Regions from separate parts of the Homo sapiens genome. Here all the other regions are linked to region 3. The links are contacts of gene promoters, found by promoter capture Hi-C in blood cells and fetal thymus (Javierre and others, 2016). All regions are on one chromosome and are shown on one strand. The core of a region is centred on a gene start or on the middle of the fragment in contact, and the rest is flanking DNA. Distances in the headings are between cores, read along the strand shown.

What was found. The method cuts DNA at HindIII sites, captures the fragments that hold promoters and counts their contacts. A CHiCAGO score of 5 or more calls a contact.
Region 1: a fragment that was not itself captured here is called in contact with the fragment with the promoter of ECM1 in region 3 in 1 of 17 cell types (neutrophils); the score reaches 6.5 in neutrophils.
Region 2: a fragment that was not itself captured here is called in contact with the fragment with the promoter of ECM1 in region 3 in 1 of 17 cell types (neutrophils); the score reaches 6.5 in neutrophils.

What each region holds. Positions count from the first base shown.
Region 1 is chr1:150,784,703-150,788,923 of GRCh38, forward strand. No RefSeq gene overlaps it. Among named protein-coding and RNA genes, the nearest start is that of CTSS, 21 kb to the left of the region's middle. The HindIII fragment of the contact is 1,818 bases long and covers 1,531-3,348 here.
Region 2 is chr1:150,825,867-150,829,937 of GRCh38, forward strand. ARNT (aryl hydrocarbon receptor nuclear translocator) reads right to left here. Exons shown (of 22, transcript NM_001668.4): 11 at 4,038-4,071; 12 at 3,227-3,361; 13 at 677-751. Among named protein-coding and RNA genes, the nearest start is that of CTSK, 20 kb to the left of the region's middle. RefSeq lists enhancers at 1,676-1,820, 2,241-2,385 and cis regulatory regions at 1,748, 2,313. The HindIII fragment of the contact is 5,500 bases long and covers 22-4,071 here.
Region 3 is chr1:150,505,104-150,509,429 of GRCh38, forward strand. ECM1 (extracellular matrix protein 1) reads left to right here and starts at 3,006. Exons shown (of 10, transcript NM_004425.4): 1 at 3,006-3,176. The coding sequence starts at 3,107. TARS2 (threonyl-tRNA synthetase 2, mitochondrial) reads left to right here. Exons shown (of 18, transcript NM_025150.5): 17 at 488-602; 18 at 1,813-2,499. The coding sequence ends at 1,961. The HindIII fragment of the contact is 8,833 bases long and covers 1-3,026 here.

The DNA.
Region 1 (4,221 bases), core at 1,190-3,689, 280 kb after region 3:
GCGGGAGGATTGCTTGAGCCCAGGAGTTCATGACCAGCCTGGGTAACATGGCAAGGTCCCATCTCTACAAAAAATACAAAATTTAGCTGGGTGTGGTGGCATGCGCCTGTGGTCCCAGCTACTCTGGAGGCTGAGGTAGGAGGATTGTTTGAGCCCAGGAAGTCAAAGCTGCAGTGAGTCGTGATCATGTCACTGCACTCCAGCCTGGGTGATAGAATGAGACTCCATCTCAAAAGATATAGATAGAGATAGATAGATAGAGATATAGATAAATATAGATATAGATATGGAATAATATTTTTAAAATATATTATTATATAATTATAGATCTATTTCCTGTTTCAGCACTGTGGCTCACACCTTTAATCCCAGCATTTTGGGAAGCCAAGGGAGGGAGGATCCCTTGAAGCCAGGAGTTCTCAAGACCAGCCTGGGCAACATAGTGAGACCCTGTCTCTGCAAAAAATAAAAGCCAGACACAGTGTACACCCCTGTAGTCCCAGCTACTTGAGAAGCTGAGGCAGGAGGATCCCTTGAGCGCAGGAGGTTGCCACTGCACTCCAGCCTGGGTGACAGACTAAGACCTTCCTTCTAAAAAAATAAAAACAAACAAAAATATTTTCTGTGTCAAAACTCTTCAATACTTCCATATTGCCTACTAATTTGAACCAAAGTCCTTATTCCAGTATTTCAGATGCTGTACAAAACAAAAGCATTGCTCTATCTTTGCAGTTTCATCTTTGCTATCCTCACACAAGAACCTTATACTCTAAGCAACTAGTTTTCCTCATATTTCCAGATCATCTATGCTTGTCACCCTCTGCACTGTTGACTTGCTTAATGATCCTAATAGTCCTAGCTAACATTAATTGGATGCCAATTATATGCCAATGAGTGTGCTAGACTCTTTGTGCATTATTATTTAATCTTCACAACTCTATGAGGTAGATATTATTATCCTCATTTTACAGAGGAGAAGTTAAACTTCTGAGAGGCTAACTTGTTCAAGAGGACAAAACTGTCCATTGACCTAGAAGTGAACCAACCTTGTTTTTAAAGTAGTGCTTTCCCAAAATTATCGTGTTGCCTCTCTCTTTCTGGAATTTCCTTTTCTCATTTCTGCTGCTTGAAATTCTGCTCCTCCTTAATGGCCCATCTCTGAAAATAGCTCTTACAAAAAGCCTTTCTCGGCCAGGTGCAGTGGCTCACGCCTGTAATCCGAGCACTTTGGGAGGCCGAGGCGGGTGGATCACCTGAGGTCAGGAGTTCAAGACCAGCCTGACCAACACGGCGAAACCCTGTCTCTACTAAAAATACAAAATTAGCCGGGTGTGGTGGCGCATGCCTGTAGTCCCACCTACTCAGGAGGCTGAGGTGGGAGAATTGCTTGAACCCGGGAGTCGGAGGTTGCAGTGAGCCGAGATCGCACATTGCACTCCAGCCTGGGCAACAAGAGTGAAACTCCGTCTCAAAAAAAAAAAAAAGCCTTTCTTTATCCCCAACTGGATGTCACTTTTTGAGCTTCTACCAAGCTTTGAGGCTTTGAGGCTCCTTGTGGCAGACACATAGACTGAGCGCAGAAAAACCATCCTCTTAATTTTCTGTTTAATATGATAATTATTTGTATTTTTGCCTTATGTAACTACCTGTTAGCCCATAAAGTACAGGGGCCCTGTAGCTCCTACTCTTCTTCGTGTCCTCCACAGTATATGATGCGATGGTCAGCAGACACTAAATAAATATTTTCTGATGATTTAAATTATTTCAGCACCTTCATTCCAGTCTGTTGTGGAATCTCATCCTGCACATCACTGCCAAACTGTGCTCCTAAAACACATTTTTATCATGCTGTTTTCTAGAAATGTTTTCTGTTGCCTGCTGCATGAAGTCCTGCGCCCCTGCCTTCCAAGGCTCTTTCCCCATGCTCTGGATCCCTTTCCTGAGCATTTTACTCAATTTGTTTTTGTTTTTGTTTTAAAGAGGGGGTCTCGCTCTGTTGCCCAGGCTGGAGTGCAGTGGCGCGATCTCGGCTCACTGCAAACTCTGCCTCCCTGGTTCAAGCAATTCTCTGCCTCAGCCTCCCGAGTAGCTGGGATTACAGGCACACGCCTCCATGCCAATTTTTTGTAGTTTAGTGGAGATGGGGTTTCACCGTGTTGCCCAGGCTGGTGTTGAACTCCTGAGCTCAGGCAATCTGATGGCTCATGCCTGTAATCCCAGCACTTTGGGAGGCCGAGGCTGGTGGATCACTTGAGGCCAGGAGTTTGAGACCAGTCTGGCCAACATGGTGAAACCACGTTTCTACTAAAAATATAAAAATTAGTGCCTCATCTGTAGTCCCAGCTACTTGGGAGGCTGAGGCACGAGAATCACTTGAATCCAGCAGGCGGAGATTGCAGTGAGCTGAGATCGCACCATTGCACTACAGCCTGGGTGACAGAACAAGACTAGTCTCAAACAACAACAACAACAACAAAAACAAACAAACAAAACCCCAGATTTTGAAAACTCAGCCTCTGATGTAGCCATGCTGGTCCCATGGACCTCCCCAGTTGCCCAATCATTCTTGCCTCCTTTCTAGAATGGCTCTCTCCATTCCTTGGCCTCTTTGTTCTGCAAGATCCACTTCAAGTACTGCCTCCTCAGAGCCTTCTCTAACTACCCCAACTCTTCTTCCCTCTAGCTACACTTGCACGATACAAATTGTACCACGAAATTCTGATTCTGTATTTGTAGCACGTAAGATAGTTTTATCTCACTAGCTAACTTGAAAATACAGGATCTTGTCCTACTCATCTTTGTATTGCACTGTGGCTTAACACATATTTAGATAATAATCAATAAACATTCATTGAATTAACTTTTCCTAATTATAATATTCTACATGGTTTGTCTTCATTTCTGGTTCATCATGACTTGGCAGTGGCTTCTGAGGCTTTAAGCCTTAGGTTTCTCTTTGAATCTCCTCCTGGTATGCAAAAGTCTGTAAACACATACAGTGTTTGAATACATTAGGGGAACATGTCATTAGATAATCTATCCTTGTATCACTTAAGGTATTTTATAAACTTACACATCATCCTGTGACATTCCAAAGCTGTAAACTGGATTTTTGCAAAGCTGTAAATTGCCCTGAAATGGGGCACACTTTTTGCAAATTTATTTCAATAGCGATTGAAAACAAAAAAACAAGGCAAATGTTTTGCACAACAGTTGCACAACAACTAAGTCTTATCCAGAATGCTGCACAACACTAAGTCTTATCGGGAATGCAGACTCCCTTTCATCACAAACGAGGCAACATCTCCTGAATAACGTGGAAAAGGAGAAATGAAAGCAAAATAAGGAAGCTTTGTCCCTGCTTGTTACAGTTGTACCTTTTCAAGCTTTTGAAGTAACCATCTCTTAGCTTCATGCCCCCTGAAAATCAGCTGCTTTAAGTTTCTCTGTCTTATTTAGTCTGTGTGTGTGTGTGTGTGTGAGAGAGAGAGAGAGAGAGACAGTCTTGCTCTGTCGCCCAGGCTGGAGTGCAGTGGTGCAATCTCGGCTCACTGCAACCTCCACCTCCACGTTCAAGCAATTCTCCTGCCTCAGCCTCCTGAGTAGCTGGGATTACAGGCGCGCCATCACGCCTGGCTAATTTTTGTTTTTTGTTTTTTTTTGTAATAGAGACAGGGTTTTGCTATATTGGCCAGGCTGGTCTTGAACTCCTGACCTCAGGCGATCTACCTGCCTCAGCCTCCCAAAGTGCTGGGATTACAGGCGTGAGCCACTGCGCCCTACCCTTATTTAGTCTTAAAGAAAAGGATTTTGAATTTTAGGATGATTCATTCCAATGCTAGTTCTAGTCTCTGTTAATTTACCCAAGTGTGCTAGGAATTTAATAACATACATTATTTTCATAATAAAATAGTTTACTTCTTACTGACCTCACTGTCCAAGAAATGCACAAAGGTGAGGTGAGGAATACCCTTCATGGACTATAGGAGAATATGGGACTAGAAAAGACGATTTTACCATAATGTTGAGTTTCCCCTCAATTAACTTTATGTTAATATTATGCAATAACTTTCTGAAGAAAGAAAACAGAATTCTTGAGTCATTAGGGAAAATAGGAATGTTCTGAATTGAAAATATATATTCTTTCTGATATTCTGTGTAGCTTATCTGCTTGGTGCATTATTTGATCCTAGTAGACATCCCCCATTATCCTACAAGTAC
Region 2 (4,071 bases), core at 1,522-4,021, 320 kb after region 3:
AAAATGAATTTTTCTACTACAAGCTTAGTGAAGTATACAATTTTCTTTTTTATCTTTTTTTTTTTGAGACAGAGTCTAGCTCTGTCATCCAGGCTAGAGTACAGTGGCATGATCTCAGTTCACAGCAACCTCTGCCTCCCAGGTTCAAGTGATTCTCGTGCCTCAGCCTCCCGAGTACCTGGGATTACAGGCATGCACCACCATACCAGGCTAATTTTTTGTATTTTTAGTAGACATGGGGTTTCACTGTGTTGGCCAGGCTGGGCTTGAACTCCTGGCCTCAAGTGATCCACCTGCCTCAGCCTCCCAGAGTGCTGGGATTATAGGCGTGAGCCACCATGCCCAGACGAGGAAAACATCTATTTTCACAGCATCTACAGAGGTTGGGCGCATGAGCCACCATGCCTGGCGCAATAGTTTAAATACCTTAAAGACAGCTCCTTGGATACAGTTAATTGAATACAAGACAGTAAATAGCCAAAGCCAAACAGAAATACCTTGGGCATTATCCATAATTTCAAAGTATTAGTCCTTTTCTATTCCTTAAAAATGCAGATTAACTACTAAAGAACATAAAACTGTAGTGCCTGCCACAGTGTTCAGTTAATCAGTAGTCAATATTTATGGAGTGAATATGACAAATATTTATTCAGAACCAAACCAGGAAAAAAGTTACCTGTTGGAAGCTGTCTCTTAGAAGCTGCTGGTCTTCAGGATGACAGAATTCTACAATATTCTTTCCTAAGAGTTCCTAGAATACAGAAAGAAGAGTAAGATATATACTTTTTTTTTTTTAAGATGGAGTTTCGCTCTTGTTGCCCAGGCTGGAGTACGATGGCGCGATCTTGGCTCACTGCAACCTCCACCTCCTGAGTTCAAGCAATTTTCCTGTCTCAACCTCCCAAGTAGCTGGGATTACAGGGGTGTGCTACCACACCTGGCTAATTTTGTATTTTTTTAAATAGAGACAGGGTTTCACCATGTTGGTCAGGCTGGTCTCGAACTCCTGACCTCAAGTGATCCACCCGCCTCGGCCTCCCAAAGCGCTGGGATTACAGGTGTGAGCCACCGTGCCCAGCCAACATATATAATTTTATGGTCATCTAACTGGCCTGGTCCATCAGCTGGGGACCTGGATTTTATTTCTTCTGTTTTAATCCTAAGATTATAGTTAAGTGAGGAGGAGAAAAAAAAAAGACAATAAACAAAAGATGAAATCTACTAAAAAAAGGCAGAATCTGTTAAGGAGCTGGCTTCTAAAACATTTTTCTTTCTCAGAATATTATACATTTATTTTAATGAGATTATAAATTTTAGATAAAATTTACATTCATAATTCAGCCATTCTAAGTGTATGATTTGATGATGTCTACTAAATTTATAGTTGTGCAATGATTACCACAATCCAGTTTCAGAACACATTCACTGCCCCAAGATGTTCCCTTGTGCCATCTGCAGTCAATCTCTGCTCCCACTCCAACTCCCCAGCCAACCACAAATCTGCTTTCTGCCTCTCTAGTTCTGCTATTTCTACAAATTTCATATAAATAAAACAACATAATATGTGGTCTTTTGGGTCTGGCTTCTTTCATTGAGCATGGTATTTTTGAAGTTCATCTACATGGCTGCATTATCAGTAGTTTATTCCTTTTTATGCTCAGTAGTATTCTCACATGGATACAACACAGTTGTGTATTCATTTACAAAATGTTAATGGACGTTTAAATAGTTTTCATTTTTTTGGCTATTATGAATAATACAGATATGAACTGTGTACAAATCTATGGGTGAACATGTTTTCATTTCTCTTAGGTAGATACTCAGGAATAAAATTGCTAGGTTATAGGCTAAGAGTATGTTTAACTTTGTAGGAAACTGCCAAAATGCTTTTGCAAAGCTAGTAGCTATACCATTTTACATGTCTATCAGCAATGTATGAGGGTTCCTTCCAGCTTCTACACATTTTCACCAATACTTTTTGATTACAGCCATTCTAGTGGGTATATAGTGGTATCTCATTGTGATTTTAATTTGCACTTTCCTAATGGTAAAAAGATGTTGAGCATCTTTTCATGTGCATAAATGCATATTTATTCTTCAGTCAAATGTCAAGTCTTATGCTCTTTTTTACCAGCTGTTTGTCTTAATGAGTTGTTTATATATTCCTGGTACAAATCCTCTTTCAGGTATATGACTTGTAACTATTTTCTCTCCATTTATGTCTGGTCTTTTCATTTTCTTAATAATATCCTTTAAAGAGGGCAAATTTTAATTACAATTAAATCCAATTTATAATTTTTTTTCTTCTGTGAATCATGCTTTTAGTGTAAGAAATCTTTTGCCTAACTCAAAATCACAAAGATTTTCTCCTAGGAGTTTATTTGTAACTTTAGCTCTTACACATTTAGGCCTCTAAGCTGATTTTTGTAAATTGTATGAGGTAAGATCTATGTGTTTTCATTTTTGGGTGTGGTTTTTTTTTTGTTTTTTTTTTTTTTTGCATACAGATATCCAATTGTTCCATTTGTTAGAAATATTTATTTTATCCATTGAATTGTCTTGTCACCTTTGCTGAAAATTAGTTGACAAGTATAAGAATAGACCTTATTCTGGTCTATTGATCTATATATCTATCCTTACACCAACACCACAGTGTCTTGGTAATAGCTTTATAGTTAGTGTTGAATCAGGTAGTGTAAATTCTCTTTGTTCTTTGTTTTCAAGACCTCTTTTTCACCAACCTCTTTCACATAGCCACAGCCAGAAGTCCTTCCGACCCACAACAGTTTTAAAAGTTTATATGATGCGTCAATTCAGAGATGGCTAACTGGTCTGTTGCATGAGTAAATTATAATAACTGGTGCTAAATCTGCATGTTTTATGGGCCATTATTCATTTAGGTAATTACATGAATTATCTAAATGTAGCTATACTGGTATAACTAATTAATATGAGTACCTTTGAATCATCTGTATTAATATCAACAACAAAAAATAAATACATATTTGTACCTGCTGCTCCCACCTGGTTTGACAAGCCATATTTCTCTACATGAGATGACAGTCCTAATAGGAAGCTGAAAATAATGTTAGGTACTAACAGAATATGATGATCTCTTTTTCTTAACTGAGGTTGATATGTTTTGGCTGTCTTAGGAACTACATGATTACATAATGTCAACATAGCCAAAGGAAAATGGAGGCCTAATGGAGCTCCAGCTCCTCACCTGTGGCTGGTAGCCAACAGTAGCCACACAGCGGTGATCCACAAAAGTGAAGATACCCTCAATGTTGTGTCGGGAGATGAACTCTGTTGGTTGACAAACATTACTCATGTCTGTACAGTTGGGAGAACTAGTTACCTGAGAGTGAAGAGATAAAAATGAGGTAAAATGATACCATTATTTACAGATGTATTTCCTATCTCCTCATGGTCTTTTGCATAGACATAAGATTCCCAGTTTTAGGACTTTCTAAACTTTCACATTTTATCCAAAAAGGAAAAAAAAATGACAATCACAATCAGACAAGGCATAAGGTCTAGCTCTGCTCCCATACATTTACACTTTACCAAGTTAGTAAAGTAAGAATAAAGTTTATTCAATCTAAAATCCACATACTGGCTATGCTGAACTCATTACTCAGGTTGATATGGTACAAGTAACCAAGAAACTTATCTATACTTATGAAAAAATCAAAATAATTCCACTTTTCTATTGTTAGTCAGGTAATGATACAATGAAAAGGATCTTTCTTCTTTTGTATAGGGGCAAAGGAAATTAACTGGAAATAGAAAATTAAGCATAGTAAAGCTAAAATTAAGACAAGGGGAAAAAGATCTCCCTCCTCTCATACTTTTCAACTTTACTTAAATCCAAGAATAGCAATGGTCACTATAAATGCCATATTCCTTCAAATTTTGAGAGTTTTATGGAATTCTTCATTTGTATTCAGAAAGTAAAAGAAAATTAACAGGAATGAGTCCTGAAGATCTGCTCTAATTGAACGGGAATATAGATGTGGAAAATTCATACTTGCCTGCAATCTGCCAATGGCCACTAGGCAAAACTTG
Region 3 (4,326 bases), core at 1,756-4,255:
GGGCTCGAGTGGCTGCTGTCCTAGATGCTGGAAATCCTGTATCTAAAAAATGTGACTAATGCCTACCTTGTAGAGATGTATGAAAATTAAACAAATTAACAAATGTTGAAAGCCACCAAAAGAGCACTTGGCACAAAACTGGGATTGAGTACACAGTTTTATTTTTCCTTTCTAGAGAGAATTGAGGATATGGATGGTACCAGAGTCAAACAGCTGGTTGGGTAGAGCAGTGGCTAGAAGGCAAAGTCCACGGAATAACTGGGGGGTCATCTCCAGTAGGAGGCAGAAAGATTGTGGGGTTGGGGATGAATGGGGAGGAGGCCTCAATGTGGAGATGAAATGAGGAGAGGTTGCTGGTAAGAAGTGGAGAGCCCCGAGGCAGGGAAAGGAGGAACAGATGGGGGCATTGAGGGAAAAGAGCATCAGACTGTTCTAGCTCCTTAACTTTCCAGTAAATTAACTTCCTGTCACCAAACCTCTGTTGCAGGCACAGCAGAGCCTGCGGGCTGCAGGACTGGTCAGTGACCTGGATGCAGACTCTGGACTGACCCTCAGCCGGAGAATCCGCCGGGCCCAGCTTGCCCACTACAATTTTCAGTTTGGTAAGCTGAACCTCAGAGCCAATGTTCTCCCACCTGCCGTCTGCATTCTTGCTGTTAAGTTTACCAAGTCTGGTAATGCATATTTGGGTTAATTGGGGCTCATTACCTGAGCAGGTAGGAGCCAGGATTCAGGACACCTGACTCATTTGGGCCCTGTGTTCCTTCACATTGCCCTGCCCTCCCCATAACCACTTCTGACACTCAAAATAGTTTTCCTCTTTTTAACTCCACTCTAGCTGTTGGTGTCTGTTAGGTTAATTAACCAAGGGAGCATCAGAGAGAAAGGGACGGGAGGGTTAATACAGCGTTAATTACCCTTGTTTATTTTAGACCTAGATGGAATCAGCCCTAAGGGATGAGGAGAAAGGCCTTAGGGAGAAAATTCTGGCACTGCCATGCTCCCTTTTTCATTTTCCAGGGTTCAGGGCTCTATCTCAAAGGTGAGGAGCAGAAACTCCTCAGCCAGATTACCTGATTCTTGAGTTTTGCACACCCCACTCTCCCTACAAGCACCCAGAGCAAGCTGTGCTGCAATCCCAGGGACTTGTACATGGCCCCTTTCCCTCCCTTACCGCCCAGTCAGCCCCTGCATACATCCTCCTCAGCAGAGGCCCCTCACTCTGTGAATCCAGCCCTAACAGACACCAAGAGCCAGAGTGGGACTGATGAGAGGAAACTGTTCTAAGGGTCAGAGTGGTTGGGGGGAGGCGGGGCAGTGTGAAGGCCACACCACTCCTGCCACCTTCCACTTGCTCTAATACCCCCTTCAGACACGCGCGCGCACACACACACACACACACACACACACACAGTTTCTCTCTGTGGGGTTCTCATTGTTTGTCTTTCTCTGCTTGACTCTAATGTCTCTGACACACACACACACACACACACACACACACACAGTTTCTCTCTGTGGGGTTCTCAGTGTTTGTCTTTCTCTGCTTGACTCTTATGTCTCTGACCCTGGGGCTCTTGACCAGAAGCGATAAGGCCTGCGGGGACTGAAGCACTTCCTTGTCTCCTCAGGATGAGCAGGACTGGTCATTTAGTATTAGCAGACACAGCTGAATACTTCCTTTCTGTGAACCATATCTGGGCTCTGCTCCCACCCTTCCTAAAGATTTAGGTCTCTCAAGTTTCTGCAGAGCAAAAGAAACTGTTCCATGTGGGTGAATTTGCCCTGAGGTTCCCAAACTTCCTCTACCTGCAGTGGTTGGCCAGAAAGAGCAAAGTAAGAGAACAGTGAACATTCGGACTCGAGATAATCGTCGCCTTGGGGAGTGGGACTTGCCTGAGGCTGTGCAGCGACTGGTGGAGCTACAGAACACGAGGGTCCCAAATGCCGAAGAAATTTTCTGAGCCTTTGTACATAGATGAGGCAAAAACCTGCGAGTGCCATCAGCCTCCCTCACATGGGAGACCCCAACCCAGCTGACAATGTGGAGCCCCCAGAACTTCAGAACTGTGTGGAGGCACATGTCTGCTCTCCTGAAAAGAGACTTGGTTTGGGGACCCCACAAAAGGAGGGAAGCTGTAGCTGTTTGGATGTGAGGAGAATGAAACTACAAAAAAAAATAAATTGGGCCAGGCGCAGTGGCTCATGCCTGTAATCCCAGCACTCTGGGAGGCTGAGGCGGACGGATCATGAGGTCAGGAGATCAAGACCACCCTGGCTAACACGGTGAAACCCTGTCTCTACTAAAAATACAAAAAATTAGCCGGGCATGGTGGCACACGCCTGTAATCCCAGCTACTCAGGAGGCTGAGGCAGGAGAATCGCTTGAACCCGGGAGGTAGAGGTTGCAGTGAGCTGAGATTGCGCCACTGCACCCCCCTAGGCGACAGAGCGAGACTCTGTCTCTAAATAAATAAATAAATAAATAAATACAAACTGGAAGCTGCTGGTCATATGTCTTCATCTCTGACTCTGGAGAGGTGGGATAAAAGGATGTTCCACTTTGTCTCCCTCTTTTTTGTCCCAGAGAGTTAGGGAAATTGAAAAGGGACAGTCCAGACCTCACACTGGTAGGGGAGATCCCTTGGATAGGTTTCCTGCTCCCCGCTGTAAACTCCTTTGTGCCCTGTTTCCCCAACCCCAGTTCATGAGTTGGCAGATCCCCTCTCCACAGAAGGCAGCCTGTAGATGGAGAAACTGAGGCACAAACTAGGGGCTCAAACACCTCTTGCTCCTGGATTCTCTGAATCAGTTTCTCTTGAAGGTCATAAGAATGTTCTCCTCTAATCAGTCCCATTCTTCTCAATCCTCTGAGGAGGCTTCAGGGTGACTTTGGGAGGAGTGGCTTCCAGAGGAGGAGCAGCTGGGACTGAGTCATGGCAGGAAGCTGAGGAGGGCGGGAGATCACACCAGACAATTATAAAAGAAGAGCTGGTCCTGAAGCTCACAACCGTAACAGCCACCAGACAAGCTTCAGTGGCCGGCCCTTCACATCCAGACTTGCCTGAGAGGACCCACCTCTGAGTGTCCAGTGGTCAGTTGCCCCAGGATGGGGACCACAGCCAGAGCAGCCTTGGTCTTGACCTATTTGGCTGTTGCTTCTGCTGCCTCTGAGGGAGGTGAGTTGGGGGATCAGCACTTAGGAGGGGGTCTGGGCTTGCATGGCAGGGGTCTGGGTCCAGGCATCCCAGACGGCTCATCACTAGCAGAGTGATTCTCCGTTTGGCTTTCCTTTTCTGAGCAGGCCCAAAGTGGGCCTAGGCCAGTGGAGCCTTTAACCAAGGAGGCAGAGAGCAGGGGCACAGAAGGAGAGGGGTTCCTAGAAACTGCTGCCAAGAAACACAGAATCCCAGTCAAATAGACAACTGAGTGGGGGGTGGGTTCACAGAGTGAGGGTCTCCTGCTGATGAGGATGTAGGGAGGTGGCTGGTGGGAGAGGCAAGGGAGGGAAAAGGGGCCCCCAGGCTGCTCAAAACCGGATTGCTGGCCCAGCAAGCCTCGACTGACTCCCTGTCTGATTAGAGGAGTTGAGGGGTGTCCATCCACAGACCCACCCTCCATCCAGCACAAACACATTCTTTATCTGCTTTGATGCCTGAACAAAACAGGAACCCCTCAATGCTATGGGTGGAAACTAAGAAAAAAAGGAAAAGAAAAGGAAAAAAACCACCCAGGGCACTCCTGCAGGAAGCTGCTGAGGATGTCAGCAAATCTGTCCACTTCTCTGTGAAGCCCCATGCCATCATTCTTCCCAGCTCCTGGTCTTTTGTGTCTGCAGATCACCTACAAGTGACCCTTCCCTGTGCCTGTCCCAGTCCCCCAGGCCCTAAATTGAGACCTAAACTAAGGCGGAGCTGAGACTGGCTGAAGGGGAAGCACTCAACCTTCAGGAAGCCTCCTTAACCAAAGGCCTAAAGATGTTTCAAGGGCCTGGAGTAGGAGGGTGGGTGGAGGAGGTGGATTGGGTAGGCTCCAACCAGCTCAAGGTCCAGACTTTTTCCTCTGAAAGCTAGAGACGCATCCCAGCAGAGACTGGGGAGGACAACCCACAGCCCTGAGGGAAAGACTGGCAGAGGAAATGAGGGCCTCCCTCCCCAATCCCGTATGCCATACTCCCTTTAGGCCCAACCTCTGAGCCAGTAGAGGTGGAGCTATCAGACCGCCACAGGCTTTCTCAGAACCCAGCTGGTCATGTCTAGGTGTGTTGGGGCTGGGAGAGGATTAGGGGACACGGGGCAGGTGAATACAGAGGGGCATCTCGTGTCTTGC